Regions from separate parts of the Homo sapiens genome. Here all the other regions are linked to region 2. Evidence: promoter capture Hi-C in human tissues and cell types (Jung and others, 2019). All regions are on one chromosome and are shown on one strand. Each heading gives the region's core, a stretch centred on a gene start or on the middle of the fragment in contact. The rest is flanking DNA. Distances are from core to core; before and after follow the strand shown.

Evidence for each region. Contacts are between HindIII fragments. The study calls those that stand out against the background at their distance.
Region 1: a contact is called between a fragment that was not itself captured here and the fragment with the promoter of OR6J1 in region 2, in 2 of the 25 tissues and cell types used here (adrenal gland and lymphoblastoid cells).
Region 3: a contact is called between a fragment that was not itself captured here and the fragment with the promoter of OR6J1 in region 2, in 1 of the 25 tissues and cell types used here (lymphoblastoid cells).

Annotation. Positions count from the first base shown.
Region 1 is chr14:22,348,408-22,351,464 of GRCh38, reverse strand. It overlaps TRA. Among named protein-coding and RNA genes, the nearest start is that of TRD-AS1, 130 kb to the left of the region's middle. The HindIII fragment of the contact is 3,160 bases long and covers 1-2,896 here.
Region 2 is chr14:22,643,102-22,646,413 of GRCh38, reverse strand. It overlaps OR6J1 (olfactory receptor family 6 subfamily J member 1), which reads left to right and starts at 2,062. Exons shown (of 2, transcript NM_001348233.2): 1 at 2,062-2,316. The HindIII fragment of the contact is 14,040 bases long and covers 1,407-3,312 here.
Region 3 is chr14:22,316,129-22,319,163 of GRCh38, reverse strand. It overlaps TRA. Among named protein-coding and RNA genes, the nearest start is that of TRD-AS1, 170 kb to the left of the region's middle. The HindIII fragment of the contact is 9,832 bases long and covers 1-3,035 here.

The DNA of each region.
Region 1 (3,057 bases), core at 67-2,566, 290 kb after region 2:
TGTTAACTTTCTGTCTCATTGATCAGTCTAATGTTGACAGTGGGGTGTTAAAGTCTCCCATTATTATTGGGTGGGAATCCAAGTCTCTTTGTAGGTCTCTAAGGACTTGCTTTATGAATCTGGCTGCTCCTGTATTGGGTGCATATATATTTAGGATAGTTAGCTCTTCTTGTTGAATTGATCCCTTTACCATTATGTAATGGCCTTCTTTGTCTCTTTTGATCTTTGTTGGTTTAAAGTCTGTTTTATCAGAGACTAGGATTGCAACCCCTGCCTTTTTTTGTTTTCCATTTGCTTGGTAGATCTTCCTCCATTCCTTTATTTTGAGCCTATGTGTGTCTCTGCACGTGACATGGGTCTCCTGAATACAGTCTGTGTCTTTTAATTTGAGCATTTAGTCCATTTACATTTAAGGTTAATATTGTGTGAATTTGATCCTGTCATTATGTTCTTAGCTGGTTATTTTGCTCATTAGTTGATGCAGTTTCTTCCTAGCATCTATGGTCTTTACGATTTGGCATGTTTTTGTAGTGGCTGGTACTGGTTGTTCCTTTCCATGTTTAGTGCTTCCTTCAGGAGCTCTTGTAGGGCAGGACTAGTGGTGACAAAATCTCTCAGCATTTGCTTGTCTGTAAAGGATTTTATTTCTCCTTCACTTGTGAAGCTTGGTTTGTCTGGATATGAAATTCTGGGTTGAAAATTCCTTTCTTTAAGAATGTTGAATATTGGCCCCCACTCTCTTCTGGCTTGTAGAGTTGCTGCTGAGAGATCTGCTGTTAGTCTGATGGGCTTCCCTTTGTGGGTAACCTGACGTTTCTCTCTGGCTGCCCTTAATATTTTTTCCTTCATTTCAATTTGGTGAATCTGACAATTATGTGTCTTGGAGTTGCTCTTCTTGAGGAGTATCTCTGTGGCATTCTCTGTATTTCCTGAATTTGAATGTTGGCCTGCCTTGCTAGGTTGGGGAAGTTCTCCTGGATAGTATCCTGCAGAGTGTTTTCCAACTTGGTTCCATTCTCCCTGTCACTTTCACGTACACCAATCAGACGTAGATTTTGTCTTTTCACATAGTCCCATATTTCTTGGAGGCTTTGTTCATTTCTTTTTACTCTTTTTTCTCTAAACTTCTCTTCTTGCTTCACTTCATGATCTTCAATCACTGATACCCTTTCTTCCACTTGATCAAATTGGCTACTGAAGCTAGTGCATTTGTCACGTAGTTCTCGTGCTATGGTTTTCAGTTCCATCAGGTCATTTAAGGACTTCTCTACACTGGTTATTCTAGTTAGCCATTCATCTAATCTTTTTTCAAGGTTTTTAGCTTCTTTACAATGGGTTCACACTTCCTCCTTTAGCTCAGAGAAGTTTGATCATCTGAAACCTTCTTCTCTCAACTCGTCAAAGTCATTCTCCATCCAGCTTTGCTCTGTTGCTGGCAAGGAGCTGCATTCCTTTGGAGGGGGAGAGGCCCTCCAATTTTTAGAATTTTCAGCTTTTCTACTCTGTTTTTTCCCCATCTTTGTGGTTTTATCTACCTTTGGTCTTTGATGATGGTGATGTACAGATGGGGTTTTGGTGTGGACGTCCTTTCTGTTTGTTAGTTTTCCTTCTAACGTGAGGATCCTCAGCTGCAGGTCTGTTGGACTTTGCTGGAGGTCCATTCCATACTCTGTTTTCCTGGGTATCTGCAGCGGAGGCTGCAGAACAGTGAATATTGCTGAACAGCAAATGTTGCTGCTGCTTGTTCCTCTGGAAGCTTCATCTCAGAGGGGTACCCGGCCATGTGAGGTGTCAGTCTGCCCCTACTGGTGGATGCCTCCCAGTTAGGCTACTCGGGGGTCAGGGACCCACTTGAGGAGGCAGTCTGTCCATTCTCGGATCTGAAACTCCTTGCTGGGAGAACCACTATCCTCTTCAAAGCTGTCAGACAGGGACATTTAAGTCTGCAGAGGTTTCTGCTGCCTTTTGTTTTGCTATGCCCTGCCCCCCAAGGTGGAGTCTACAGAGGCAGGCAGGCCTCCTTGAGCTGGGGTGGGCTCCACCCAGATCAAGCTTCCTGGCTGCTTTGTTTACCTACTCAAGCCTCAGCAATGGCAGGCACCCCTCCCCCAGCCTCACTGCAGCCTTGCAGTTTGATCTCAGACTGCTGTGCTAGCAATGAGCAAGGCTCCGTGGGCGTGGGACCCTCTGAGCCAGGTGCGGGATGTAATCTCCTGGGGTGCCATTTGCTGAGACCATTGGAGAAGTGCAGTATTAGGGTGGGAGTGACCCAATTTTCCAGGTGCCATCTGTCACATCTTCCCTTGGCTAGGAACGGGAATTCCCTGACCCCTTGCACTTCCTGGGTGAGGCAATGCCTCGCCCTTCTTTGGCTCATGCTCGATAGGCTGCACCCACTGTCCTGCACCCAGTGTCCTACAAGCCCCAGTGAGATGAACCCGATACCTCAGTTGGAAATGCAGAAATCACCTGTCTTCTGCATCGCTCATGCTGGGAGCTGCAGACTGGAGCTGTTCCTATTTGGCCATCTTGGAACCGCCCCCCTAAATTGTTTCTTTTTAAAAAATTTTTGAGACAGCATCTCATTATGTTGCCCAGGCAGGTCTTGCGCTCCTGTCTGCAAGTGGTCCTCCCACCTCGGCCTCCCAAAGTTCTAGGATTACAGGCATGAGCCACCATACCTGACTCATTTATGATTTGTGGTGTTATATACTACATTCTGATAGATATCTTTGTGTGTGGATCTTTATTACAAATTCTTTCCTAAGCATAAATCCCTAGAATTATGCAGAAAAAAGTACTTTATTGGTTTCAGAATTACTTTAATTATGTAGTAATAGACATTTTAATGTGTTTATCAGTCATTTATAATCTTCTTTTGTGAAATGCCTGTTAGCTTCTTCTATCATTTTCTATTTGTGTGCAATTTGTATTTACTGATTTGGAAGTATTTTTATATACCAGTGGCATATAGAAATGCAGTTTTTGCTTTGATATATATTTTAGATAATTTCTACTTTATTTGTCTTTTAATTTTTTACAGCGTTTTAATATTCA
Region 2 (3,312 bases), core at 813-3,312:
TATACTTTTCTGTACATGTGTTATATTTAAATTAAAAAAGGTTAAAAACACTCCAGTTCTACACTGTGGATTCCTGATTCCAAGTGCAAGAAAAGGATATCTAAAGAGGGAGAACCTAGCTTAGGCTAGGAAAAGGGACAAGAGTAGGGCCTAGAGACTAGGCGGTGGAGAAGATGGTCCCAATGGTAGGACACTTGGGGCCCGAGTGTGCAGTAAGAAAGTGAGGGCCAGCGTGGGGCACAGTGAATAGAGTGGCTCAACCGAAGTAAAAGATGCGCAAGGTGATGTGTAAGACAGGAGCTGAGTCTGGGCGGTAATTCAAGGGAGACTGGGATTAGGGGGTCTTGAGTGCCAGGCTATGCAGTGTGGGACCTTTTGTTTCACATAGTGCAAGGTTACTGAAGCTTTGGCATATTGATCACAGTGTATTAGGATGTTGAAGAGGAGGGTCCTGGGTAAATGGAGTGGTAGGGATGGATGGAACTGTCACAGTGGGGCTGGAGAGGGGGTGGATGGAGGACTGTATGCTGTGAGGCTCTCTGAGATAGGCCTGGGGGTGTTGATCTTGGCTAGTGTTCTGTTCCCAGTTCTTGTTAGTGTAGATGTTTAGGTTTGCATCCTTTCCTAAGTGGGCCTCAGGGGCATCAGACTCAGGCTTGGTGTTCAGGGACAGCTTCGTAATGTGCCCCTGAGGAGTGCCCCATGTTTGGAGGTTTCTCAGAAAGTGCATGCTCTCACCTGAGCCAATCCCACCCCAACCCTCCCAAGTGGGGTCCAAACATGGGACCCTTCTAGAGTATGCCCCCTTCAGCCCTGACAGTGCAGAGTCTGTTTGCAGCAACGCAAGCCTCAGCGCCCAGCACGGAAGCCTGGGGCAGCTGTGTGGGCAGGATATGCTGGGGGCCAGCCCCCTCTACCTTATTTAGGCAAATGTGAGTATTTCTGAGTCCTCCCGCTGAATCCCTTCCAGCTTACTGACTCCTCTGTAGAGTGCAGATGGTGGAGGACAGGAAGTAGTTTCTTCATTTCCAGGAATCCTGGGCAACCGAAATTCCCATGTAGAGAAGCATCTTCCCTTTGTCTTCACACTTTGTAGCCAACCAGATATGCTGTCCAAGGGGAGAATAGTTGATTAAGGCAGAAGCATGGGCCTGATGAGATGTATTCCAGAGCCAGAAGGGACAGTATTCTTCCCTCTAGGGTGGGATGATCAATATCTCAGTAGGGACAAGGAAGATAAGGTTTGTTCTTTTCCAGTATTGCAGAATAGGAGGGGTTCTAGAAAATAAAGCAATATGGTGTTTTATGATTTCACACATCATATGAATTATCATACATTTGTTCTTCACGATCCTTGGCAATGATCGATTATCATATGAGTTATCTTATTTTCCGTTTTGTGCTTCTCAACCTCATGAGGAAGAGGAGGAAAAGAGCATTACCGCTGTTTGTCACATGAGGATTCATTTGCAGATAGTATGAAAATGGAGGCAATTTTTCCAGTCTCAAGAATGGTAAAAGGCACAGGTGGGACTTGAACCCAGACTCTTGGCTTCAAGTCCAGAGTTTTCTCATGCACCAGCTACCCCTCAACAGGATTTGACTATCCTGCAGTAACCCTAGAGGAAGTTTAGTCCTTGGGACGCTTGGCCTGCCAGTCTCTGAAAAAAATATGATGGGGATGGTGGTGGTGGTAGTGCACGTTGGGTTGAGGGGACAGAGGAAGAAGCAGGTTGATGGCTGTTGTCCATCAGGTAACACAGTGTTTCTTTTCCCATTTTCTCTGGAATCAAGAAGCACCCAGAAGACTGGGCTGAGCAGAAGACTGGAGAGGGTGCAGGAAAGATGGTAGCAGGAGAGGAGAATAAAGCACCATCCAGGAGCTTAGTGGAGAGTGCCCCTTTTCTCTCCCCAACTGGATCAGATTGTGTAGACAGTGTGGGAGGTGCAGCTGGTCAATGCTTAACCGAAGGTGATTTCCTCACACACTCAGGATTAGGGCAAGAGGATTTGTAGACCTCTCTATGCTGGAATGGATGTCATACCTTGTAACTTCCTCAGCAGTGTAAAAATCCAACATGTACCTTCCAGCTGTCTACAACACAAGTGCATGCTCGTCGGACAAGAGGTCACAGCTAAGGCAACAATCCACATGAGTTGGGAAGGGCTCATTTCACCTGTCAAACACTGCTGCTCTCATGTGGAATGCACTGTGGCTTTTTGGTCAAGATAATTACCGTGGAAGATCCTAGGTGGCAGCAAATCCCAGGTGAACAGACTGAGCCGTGGAGGTGGCATAAGGCAACCCTAGCCGAGGTGAGTGCAGACCAATCGTTTGGCATTTGGGGGCTGGCTGGGAGCAGCTGTTCCTGTTATAATCTCAGGTGTGTATCTTTGCCTTCATTAAGCTTCTTAATATTTCTGATGTGAGGAAATGATTTTCCAGTGGGTGCAGTTGCACCTTATGCAAAGATGTATTTTGAGAGTTAAATGAATTAAGTCTTGATCCCTCATCCTACCATTTCCAGATTTGGTGACCAAGTCCAAATTCATCCTCCATACTATTCTTCTAGATTTTACAGACTGTGCATATATCTACATTTAGTAACTGCTGTCTCTCTCTCTCTCTCTCTCTCTCTCTCTCTCTCTGTGTGTGTGTGTGTGTGTGTGTGTGTGTGTGTGTGTGTGTGTGTGTGTGTTTCTGCCATGCCAGGGGTCAGGGCTTCTTCTTGGGGCTGTGGCCTTTTCTCCTGCTACATTGGTTCTTTAAGATCCTTGGCAATGATCCATGCTATAACATAGATGAACCTTTACAAATATTATAGTAAGTGGCCTGCACCTGTAATCTCAGCACTTTGGGATGCTAAGACAGGAAGATCGCTTGAGCCCAGGAGTTCGAGACCAGCCTGGGCAATATGGCAAAACCCCTATCACTACAAAAAATACAAAAATTGGCCGGGCATGGTGGTGTGTGCCTGTAGTCCCAGTTACTTGGGAGTCTGAGGTGGGAGGATCACTTGAGCCTGGGAGGTCGAGGATGTAGTGAGTTATGATTGCACCACTGCACTCCAGCCTGGGTGACAGAGTGAGACCCTGTCTCAAAAAATAAAAAAAGTAAAATTATTTTCTAATTAAAAAAAAAATTAGGCTAGGCACGGTGGCTCACGCCTGTAATCCCAGCACTTTGGGAGGCCGAGGTGGATGGATCACTTGAAGTCAGGAGTTCGAGACCAGCCTGGCCAACATGGGGAAACCCTGTCTCTACTAAAAATACAAAAATCTGCTGGGCGTGGTGGCAGACGCCTGTAATCC
Region 3 (3,035 bases), core at 100-2,599, 330 kb after region 2:
TCATCTCTTAGCAAACAGAGCTGGGTATGTTCAAACTGAAGTTATTGTGGAGTAGAATATGACAGGCTTACAGTGGAATCTGGTTTCCCAGGAGGAGAACAGATCATACATCCAGAGAAAAGTAGATTCGGAAAGCATAGCCAATTGGTGATTTTCTTCTTTCTGTGAGTCCTAGCTGTATTTTGCACAAATTGATTTTATGAGAATTTCTAATATCCTTTCAGAAAATCTTTTCCTTAATTACTATGAGCGCGTTACACAACAAATACTAAAAATTCAGGATCCCTTCTTCCAGACATTACAACTCATTTTTATAAAACTACTGTATAAATATATAGTTATCTCCATTAAATTCTATTTTGACAGTTTCAGTCTATCTTTCCAGTTTGTTCAGATGATTTTCAATCTTTAATTTATGCTGTAAATAAACATATTAGCTGGAGATCATTAGGACATGATCATCATATACCGATCTCAAAATTTGCTATTTGTACATTTAATGGGCATACCTTGTGTGAATTTACATAAGATCAATGTGAACAGGTCAAAGTGAAGGATAAAATCATGAGGTGTAACAATAGGGACATTTTTCTAAATTGTATATTTATACATGGCCGTTCTTTCAGCTGAGAATTCACCAAGTCTAGCATTACGCAGAATGACAAAGTGAATAGAGGATACAGTCTAGATCCAAATGAACTTAGGTTTGAGCCTTAGTCTTACTACTTACTAGATTCTACTGGATTTTTCTATTCAATACTCCAATCCTCAGTCTCCTTATTCATAAAATGGGTGTAACAATACCAAAATTATAGTTTTGTGGTGGGGATTACAGATAACATTGGGAGGTAACAAAGTATAGAATTTAAGAATGCAGGCTTTGGGCTTGTCAAACTGTATTTGTATGCCAGGTCTTCCCTTACTAACTCTGTGTTCTTGGGCAAGTTAGTTAATTCTTCTGTATTAAAGATAGTTTCCTTATCTATAATAAGGATTGCACCTACTTCATGAGGTTGTAGTGAAGATTAAGTGAATTAATGTATGCAAAGCATTTAGAACAACACTTCATGCACATTAAGCCCTTGATAAATAAATGTTAGTTCTTATTACATATGTAGTACAACAGGGCCTGTGATAAACACAACACTCAACAAATGATAATATATATATATTTTTCCCATTGATATAGTGAAAAACAAATTATTAAATATCTTGCAAATATTTGACACGTTTGAAGTCCACGGAAGTCCTTTGAATTTAGGACTTGTTTTAAAAATGTCTTTAGTGAGCTCATTCTGGCTTGGTACTGATCACTGCATTATTTTCTAAGAGCCCACACATTATCTGTTAATAATCTGCTCTAGAATTTTGCTGGGTATCGATCCACTATTTCTGTGTTCCTGAGTTGGGGATTTCCTTCATTCCTGATAGGTTTTCAAAAAATTCTCCCAATGCCTTGCCAACCATGCCTGCAAATTCTTTTTGTATGTTGGGGATTAGTTTAAAAGACCCAGAAGAATTGATCATTTTCAAAGCATCTAAGTTCTCTCTTAGTATCTTTTTATCTGTCATAATTTTTCATTTCTTCATTTCCAGTTTGAAAATTATTCTTTTCTTTTTTTTTTTTTTTTGAGATGGAGTTTTGCTCTTGTTGCCCAGGCTGGAGTACAATGGCATGATCTTGGCTCACTGCAACCTCCGCCTCCCAGGTTCAAGCAATTCTCCTGCCTCAGCCTCCAGAGTAGCTGGGATTACAGGTGCCCACTGCCACCCCCAGCTAATTTGTGTATTTTTAGTAGAGATGGGGTTTTTGCCATGTTGGCCAGGCTGGTCTCGAACTCCTGACCTCGGGTGATATGCCTGCCTCAGCCTCTCAAAGTGCTAGGATTACAGGGATGAGCCACTGCGCCCGGCCCAAAATTATTGTATTTGATGAAGAATAGAGGATGAAACCAGGGGTCGAAGTGCCCTACCTCTTCTTTATTCTCTACCAAAATTATTCTGTTTTCCTCGATATGTAAATTAACCTTCCTCCCCACCCCACCCTCTTCATTTCTCCAAACTGTTCTAAAACGCTTTTTATGTTCCACTTCACATTTTCTTTAAGCCTTAACTGCATTCATTAAAAGGTTTCCACTTTTTAACGATTTCCTTAAAGGCTCATGCCATCTTTGCTATTCTCCTTTGCCTTTGTGTCAGTCAACATTTGTATAATTTTTAGTTAAAAGCTGAGTTAGTATACCTTCCCGTACTGCTATAGGTTTTATCAGATGGCTCCATATTTCACATACTTATTGGAATTGTTTGCAATGGAATAGTAAGAATTTAATTTTTTTAGAGCTTCTTGTCCCATTAAGAATCACATTTAGATTTTTTGGTTGTCTTCTTTTTTATTGAGGTAAAAGTCACACAACATAAAATTCATACTTTTAATCACTTTAGAGTATATAATATGGTAGCTTTTAGTGTATTCACAATGTTGCGCAACCATCACCACTATCTAGTTCAGAATATTTTCCCCAAAAGAAACCCCACACATCTATTAAGTAGTCCCTCCCCACTCCCCACTTCTTTCAGCTTCTGGCAGCCACACTGCTTTCTGACTTTGGATTTGCCTATTCTTGGTATTTCATATAAATGAAATACACAATATGGCCATTTTGTGTCTGGATTTTTCCACTTAGCATAATGTTTTCAAGATTCTTCATGTTGTAGTAGGTGTCAGTACTTTATTCCTTTTTATGGCTGAATAATATTCCATTGTATAGAGATACCACATCTGGTTTGTCCATTTGGATTACTTACACTTTTGACTACCATAAACAATGCTGTTATGAACATTCATGCACAGGTTTTTGTGGGGACATATGCATTGTGGGTAGATACATCGGGCTGGAATTGCTGGGTCATATGCTAATTCTATGTTTCACATTTTGAGGTGCTGCCAAACTGTTTGCCAAAGTGATAGCATCATTTTACATCCCCACCAACAATGTATGAGGGTTCTAATTTCTCACATCCTTGATAAGACTCAT